Linked DNA regions of Homo sapiens: region 2 is linked to region 1. Evidence: promoter capture Hi-C in 16 types of primary human blood cells and fetal thymus (Javierre and others, 2016). All regions are on one chromosome and are shown on one strand. Each heading gives the region's core, a stretch centred on a gene start or on the middle of the fragment in contact. The rest is flanking DNA. Distances are from core to core; before and after follow the strand shown. Region 1 holds the start of NFYB (nuclear transcription factor Y subunit beta). Region 2 holds the start of C12orf75 (chromosome 12 open reading frame 75).

What was found. Contacts are between HindIII fragments. The CHiCAGO score rates a contact against its expected background, and 5 or more counts as called.
Region 2: a contact is called between the fragment with the promoter of C12orf75 here and the fragment with the promoter of NFYB in region 1, in 3 of 17 cell types (fetal thymus, total B cells and non-activated CD4 T cells). The highest score is 8.3, in fetal thymus.

Annotation. Positions count from the first base shown.
Region 1 is chr12:104,136,348-104,139,790 of GRCh38, reverse strand. It overlaps NFYB (nuclear transcription factor Y subunit beta), which reads left to right and starts at 1,581. Exons shown (of 8, transcript NM_006166.4): 1 at 1,581-1,650. RefSeq lists enhancers at 844-1,013, 1,837-2,428, 2,429-3,022 and silencers at 1,398-1,697, 1,748-1,847, 1,948-2,027, 2,088-2,217. The HindIII fragment of the contact is 8,431 bases long and covers 1-3,443 here.
Region 2 is chr12:105,328,920-105,332,362 of GRCh38, reverse strand. It overlaps C12orf75 (chromosome 12 open reading frame 75), which reads right to left and starts at 1,672. Exons shown (of 6, transcript NM_001145199.2): 1 at 1,426-1,672. The coding sequence starts at 1,471. RefSeq lists an enhancer at 47-590 and silencers at 1,247-1,346, 1,377-2,036. The HindIII fragment of the contact is 8,522 bases long and covers 1-3,443 here.

The sequences.
Region 1 (3,443 bases), core at 332-2,831:
TTTTTTTTTTCTAAGCAAATAACACCTTTTAAATGTTTGATGGAGATTGAAGAAATTCATGCTATATAAAGATCTTAGGATAACTTTTTTTTTTTTTTTTTTTGAGATGGAGTCTTGCTCTGTCGCCTAGGCTGGAGTGCAATGGTGTGATCTCGGCTCACTGCAACCTCTGCCTCCCGGGTTCAAGCGATTCTCCTGCCTCAGCCTCCTGAGTAGTTGGGATTACAGGCGCCCACCACCACGCCCGGCTAATTTTTGTATTTTTAGTAGAGACGGGGTTTCGCCATGTTGGTCAGGCTGGTCTCGAACTCCTGACCTCAGGTGATCGGCCTGCTTCGGCCTCCCAAAGTGCTGGGATAACTTTTTTTTTTTAAAGGGCTTTCTATGTATACATTATCCCAAACAACCCTGAGAAGCAGACATTTGGCCAAGATCACAAGCCTGTAAGAAGGGGAGTTGGAATTCAAGTCAGGTTGTCTGATGACAGTGGCATTGCTACTTACTCCTCTTGTCACAATTTGGGGCTTTCATTTGTCTTTTCTTCCATACTTGCCGCAGAAATGTTTAAATACTCTGAGAAACAGTAGGAACTCTATAAATAAAAGATCTCTGTATTTTTACATAATCAAAGCTGGAGAGTTTAATGTGGTGCAGGCCACTCGGTTAGTGGAAGCAGAGGGCATGCCATCCCCAGCTCCGGTTGCAGTGAGTGGATCCAGTGTTGGATTACCCACCTCTGGGATGGTCACTGCTAAGCGAAGCTGAACTCAGGACTGCAGTTTGAGAAAGACAGCGAAGGAGCTTGGCTGCACAGAGGCAAGAACGGGCCACGGATTCTTGCAGCCAAAATGTCATCTGGTTGGGAAAAGCCGCTTGTCAATCTGCAGCTACTAGAGGGGTGGGGGTGGGTGGAAAATGCAGCATCTTAAGTTCAAGATTCAGGGTGAAGGCTGGCTAGACTTAGCAGGGGTCTGCATCTTTAGATGAAATGTGAAAAACACCCAAGCTCAGGGACCAAATGACAGGGAGCGCTGTGCATGCGGCGACGCTAACAGGGACCCAAGGAAAGAAAACACGAGGCGCTGAAGGCGCTCCAGGAGGCCCCCGCCGTTCAGACCCTCCCGGTGGCTCGGGCGCGTCGTCCTAGGGGGCGGCTTCTGTCCTTGGTTTCCCCTTCTTAAAAATCCAGGCGCAGGCAGGCTGAGCTCAGGCGGCTGAGGCACCTCCACGTGGCGGGGGAAGGGGTGACAAAGAGAGGGACGCCCGAGAGATCCCGCTTCGCACAGGCCCGGGTCAGCACCGGGAAGGAGGCCCGCCTAGACCCGAACGGCGCGCCCGGGCAGGGCCCTGGAAGACCTCGCGCCTAGAGGAGCGGCATCCGGAGCGGCGCGGAGGCCTCACAGGAACGCGGGACTGGGCCGGGGGCGGGGCGGGGCCGGGGGCGGGGCGGGGCGGGGCGGGGCCGCGGCGGGCGGGCGCGCGGGCGGCGCGGAGGGAGGGTGTCGCGCCGAGGGAAGCGGCCCGCGGCGGAGGGAGGGGAGGCCGAGTCCTGGAAGCGGAGCTCCGCGCTGGGACTGGTTCCTTCGCAGCCATTTTCTGTCCAACCAAACAGCCGATTGGAGACGGGAGCCAACCAGGGCTGCATTGGAGGTTTGTGTCTCGCTTCGGCCAATGATCGCTCCTAAACCGACTCCACTTTAGCTCGAATGAAATGTCCGTCTCCTCCCGGCGCCGTCCCCGCCGCCAACGCCGCCGCGGCCGGGGGCACTAGCCTCCCGCCCTCCCGCGCGGGCCGAGGCCGGGCCCCGCGCCTGCGAGGCCGCTCCCGCAGCGGGCCGGGCCGGGGAGCGGGCGCGGGGCCGCGGCGCGGCTCTTTGTGCGCCGGGCTGAGGAGCGGCGGGACGCGGGCCAGGCCACCTCACCCTCGCCGCCGTTGAGCTCCGGGCCCGGGGCCGAGGAGGGGCCGCGGGGCTGCGTCGGGGCCCCGCTCTCGACGGCGTCCCGGGCCGGCTCCATTTTGTGCGGGGAGCCGGCCGAGGGGCGGGAGACGCGGCCCGGGCCCTGGCCCCGTAGCCCCGGCGGCGGCGCGAGTCCCCGGGGGCGCCCTCCTCCCGCCCGCGGGGCTGTGGCGGGGCCCGGCGCTTTGTCTGCCCGCACATCCCGGGGGCCGCGCGGCGGGTGGGAGGCAGGCGTTGGGCGCGGGGCCGGGGCGGCCGGGCGAGTCAGGGGATGCGCTCTGGGGGCGGCCTCCTGGCACTCGCAGGGCTGACAGGTCGCCGGGACCAGGCCGTGGGGCCGGGGCCACCCAGGCACCTGCGTGGGGAGGAAGGCATGGCTTTAGCTTCCCCGCAGCCTGGTTTGCGCGTAAAGAATGCAGCCATCTGGCGGTTTGCGGTCCCTGTACTTGCCCCGAAGGTGGGAAGGAAGCCCTTCGGATTGGACTAAGGTTTTAATCATTAGTGGTGGGAGGCGGGAGGATATGCAGGGCCTTAAAGAACGGTAGTCTTAGAGAACAAAGAATTACAGAGCACCCACAAATCGTAATCTCGCCCAAAGCACTCTAACAGGATAATTTAAACAAGGTTAGGTAGCCTGCGACCTTTAAAAAAATGGCATCCCACTAACCCGCATGGACCCCATAGTTGCGTGGTTCGTGCTACAAATCACTGGGGTGGTTTCATCTCTCTTAGTATGGAAACTAATCAGCAACATAAAGTGATGAAAGCAAACGGATCAATATCAGTGGCACTAATCAGTGGGGGGTTTATTTGTAAAGTATTGAAAGTTTAACCAAAATTCCTTAAAAGGCAAATTATTCCTTCCCTGCATTGCTCTTGTATCTTAATTTAAGGATTACTGTATATTGATGCAAAACTCTGGTTGTTGATGCCAAAGAATGGAGGGTGGAGGAAGGGACTACTGCTTTTCTTGGATACAAATTTGCATTTCTTAAAACATTAAACAGATGTATGCATTCCCTTGAGCTTTTACATATATCAACCTGCCCTTAAGAAAATATACACCATATGAGGTGACAGTGTTTTTCTTTAATGTACTGAGTCTAAATATATACTGAATCAACTATTTGGGTGAGTGAGTGTGGTGTGGTATGACTCCCTGCCCACACCCCCCTCTCCCATTCCAAGCAAAATACATAAATATAGCTCCCATGTTTTAAGTGTTCTGAGGGCTTATTTTTTCAAAGACACTCTTTAAAAAATAACATTTCTCGTTACAAGGAAGGACTTTTCTGAGCAGTTTTGGGGTTAGAGGATACTATTAATATTTGAAAAGAAATTATAAATTACTTTTAATATTATAGCAAACGTCAAGCAGTTTTTGCTACCTGGACCTTTTTAGTGGCATTAAAAACTTTCAATTCAGTGGCTACAATTTTTTCTGCTATTTGCTAGATTTCATGCTTGGATGCGTATCAGTATATC
Region 2 (3,443 bases), core at 423-2,922, 1.2 Mb before region 1:
TGCATGAAACTAGCCTCATTTTAAGGGAAATCTGCTACAAATCCTTCCTACAATTTTTTTTAATGTGGATAACTTTTCTTCACCTTTTTTAAGTAGGCTACACATGCAGTGGATTGCATACGGCCACAGTACCTAGTAGACTGAGACACAATTTGAGTGCGGGGTGTGGCCCTGACATTGTTTCATACAAGCAGAGCTTTCTGGCCACAGGCAGGTTTGAAGCCCGTCTGCCCTCATTAGCATAAGGTGCTACACTAACCTTCCCCACTGTTAAATGAATCTAAAAAGTTCGCTCTCCTGTGGCTCTCTGCATTGTCACCAGGACAGGATTTAATTCAAGACTCAAATTGAGTCTTAAACTCCATTTTTTACCGGCGTCTGGGTTAAGGGATGTGACAGGCCCAAGGTTACAAAGTCATTGCCAGGGCCTCCACAGCCGCCTAGGAAATACCGCAGCCTCTGACTGCTGTTTGCATTTGCTGGTTAGGCTAGGATGTGGCATCTGGTTGACTTCAATTGGAGGAGATAGGAGCTCTTTATCCAAAAGGACACTGAAATAGGTCAGCAGTTATTACTCAAAACAGATCCAGGGTACCTTAAATCCCGAGACATAGGCAGGGTGAAATAGAAGGGTGAGTTTTGGCAAAAGTCACTTGACACAAAGCCTGGCTGGCCCGGGGAAGCTAGAAGACCTTGCCTGCCAATCAACATGAAGTGGTATAAAAAGAAGTTTCTATTTGTGTGTGTGTGTGTGTGTGTGTGTGTGTGTGTTTAATGAAAAGTATCTTAACAGACTGTTAATAATAAAGCTCTGTCTCACATATGTAAAACATCCTTACTGCTGCAGCTTCTCAGAGAAATCCTAAGAGCAGCCCAGCCGGTCTTCGGCATCAAGGCAGACACAGATGCGTTTTTGCAGCTCTGCTTCTAGTTCTCCCCAACCCCACTCCCACCCTTCCCCGCTTCCTGCCCCACCACCACTGCCCGAAAAGTCCTGTCTTGCTCTGCTGCACTTTTCCAGGTGCAGCGCCTTGGTTCCGAGGAGATGGGGGAGAGGCCTGGAGGAGCAAGTGTGGGAGGTGGGGGAGCGGCCGGGGACCACGTCCGGGAATCCTCTCCCCCAGGAGAGCCCTGAGACCCGCCAGCTGCAGGTGAGCCCCGGCGGCTGCAGGGGAGCCCGCGACAGTCCTCCCCGCGCTCCCTCGGCAGAGACGCCCCGCAGGCTCGACTGCTCCAGGCGCAACCGCCCCCGCGCGGGGGACTTGCCACGCTTTCGGTCTTTCCAGAAACGGGCGGTCTGCTCCTGTCCCGAAAATGGGGACGGGGAGAGGGGGCTGCGCGCCCCCCACCCAAGATCCCTGCACCCTTCCTTCCCGCCGCCTCTCCCGCCCGCCCCCGCCGGCCCCCGCCTCCCGCCGGACTCACCTTGGCCCGCGCCCGCGCTGGTGGCGGTGGAGTTCCCGCAGCCCATCGCGCAGCCGGCCGGGGAAGCCGCGCTCCGGAGCTCTCGGCCGCGGGTCCTGGGGGCGGAGACCCAGACGAAGGGCGGCGCACCCCGAGCGGGAGGCTGACGGGGCCGCGAGGGGCCAGGAACCGAGTGGGGGCCGCCCCCTCCCACCGCCGGGAGACGCGGCCCGGGGCGCAGCGGGCTGCGGGCTGCCGGGCGGAAACCACCCGGCACCCCTCGCCCCGGCCCCGCCCCGCCCGGGGACCCGCCGGACCCACCCGTCGCCCCAGCAACCTCGGCACTGGCCAATCCCCAGCCTCCTGCGCGCTTCGCGGTCGGCCATTGGTCGTTATTACGAGGGGCGGGAGTTTAAAGTGGGCCCCGGGGCGAGGGAGCGGCAAGGGGCGTGGCCGGCGCAGCGGGGTGGGGGTGCCCACCTGCCCACCCTCAGCATCCTCCTCGCCTTGTCTTTGCTTTTCTTTCCTCACTTCCCCTCCCTGCCCCAGGATGTGGGGAGGAGAGGAAGTAGCAGGGGGCACCCTGCACAGTGGACGCCCAATAAATGCTATTGACTGAATGTTGTGCAGGTCTGAAGCCAAAACCGAAATCCCCAGCTGCTTTAACAGAAGGCCAACGCAGCTCTGTTCCCCATACGCACTGCCTGGCAAAAGTTCTTCCCCAGATTGGTCATCTTGACCTATTCCTCTTTAAAACAAATGTCTGCAACGATTTCAATAACTTGGATTCAGGACCTCCTCTCTGATAAATGAGAGAACTGTGGATGGGCACGGTGCTGTACGTTTCAACATGATAGTTGGGCCAGCGTTACTGCAGTCAGACTGTCTGAGTTAAAGTCTTCGTTCTGCCCCGTGATAGCTGCGTGACCTCAGGAAAGTAACTTAACCCATTGGGTACATCCCTTGTTTCACCTATAAAATGACAGTAACTCAGGTACATATAAAGTACCTAACAAAGTTCCCTATCTTTAGTAAATATCAGCTATTATCATTATTATTATTAACTCTAATAGAAATGAATACAAATTCCTTAAAGGGAAAGACTATCTGATTTTTCATAGCGTCCTCCTGGCTTGTAATACAGACTCACTAAATGTTTTGTGAGGTGACTTCAAGCCAGGAATTAAAGCTCCATTTTAAATTCACTTAATATTTGTAGGGAGCCTAGCCTGTGCCAAGTCCTTTGTTAAGTTCCGGGGATACAAATATGTGGGAGACAGTCTAACCAGGCAGATAGATTAAAATAAATTAATTACAATATAGAAGGAATGTTAACAGAGGAATACAGGTGCCATAGAGTCCCAGAGGATGCTGGGATGCTAGTTAAAAGACTTGCCTAAGGCCAGGCATGGTAGCTTACACCTGTAAACTAGCACTTTGGGAGGCTGACACGGGCGGATCACGAGGTCAGGAGTTCGAGACCAGCCTAACATGGTGAAACCCTGTCTCTACTAAAAATACAAAGATTAATTGGGTGTGGTGGCATACACCTGTAATCCCAGCTACTTAAGAGGCTGAGGCAAGAGAATCACTTGAACCTGAGAGGTGGAGGTTGCAGTGGGCCGAGATAGCACCACTGCACTCAAGCCTGGGTGACAAAGCGAGATTCTGTCTCAAAAAAACAAAACAAAACAAAAAAAAAACAGACTTCCCTGAAACCATACTGTTGTGTTTACATAAAAATAAAAATATGAACCAGAATCAAGGACTTGGCAGGTTTTTGAACATGGCCTTTGAGGCAATGGTGCGTTCTATCATTCAGGATGCAAAATATACAGCATTCTCCATTTGAAAATTAGCTGTGGTAGCCATGTGCTGAGAGGATAATTAATTCTTGGATAAATAAAGGCATTTTTTAGTTGACTTCTAGAAGTACTGCTTCTCTACCAGCCTGTGCTGTCTTGGTTCAGTGTCCATCCTAATACATAGCCAGAACTGGGGAAAAGGGAACTATCAAGTAGCCGAAAGATATTCTCCTG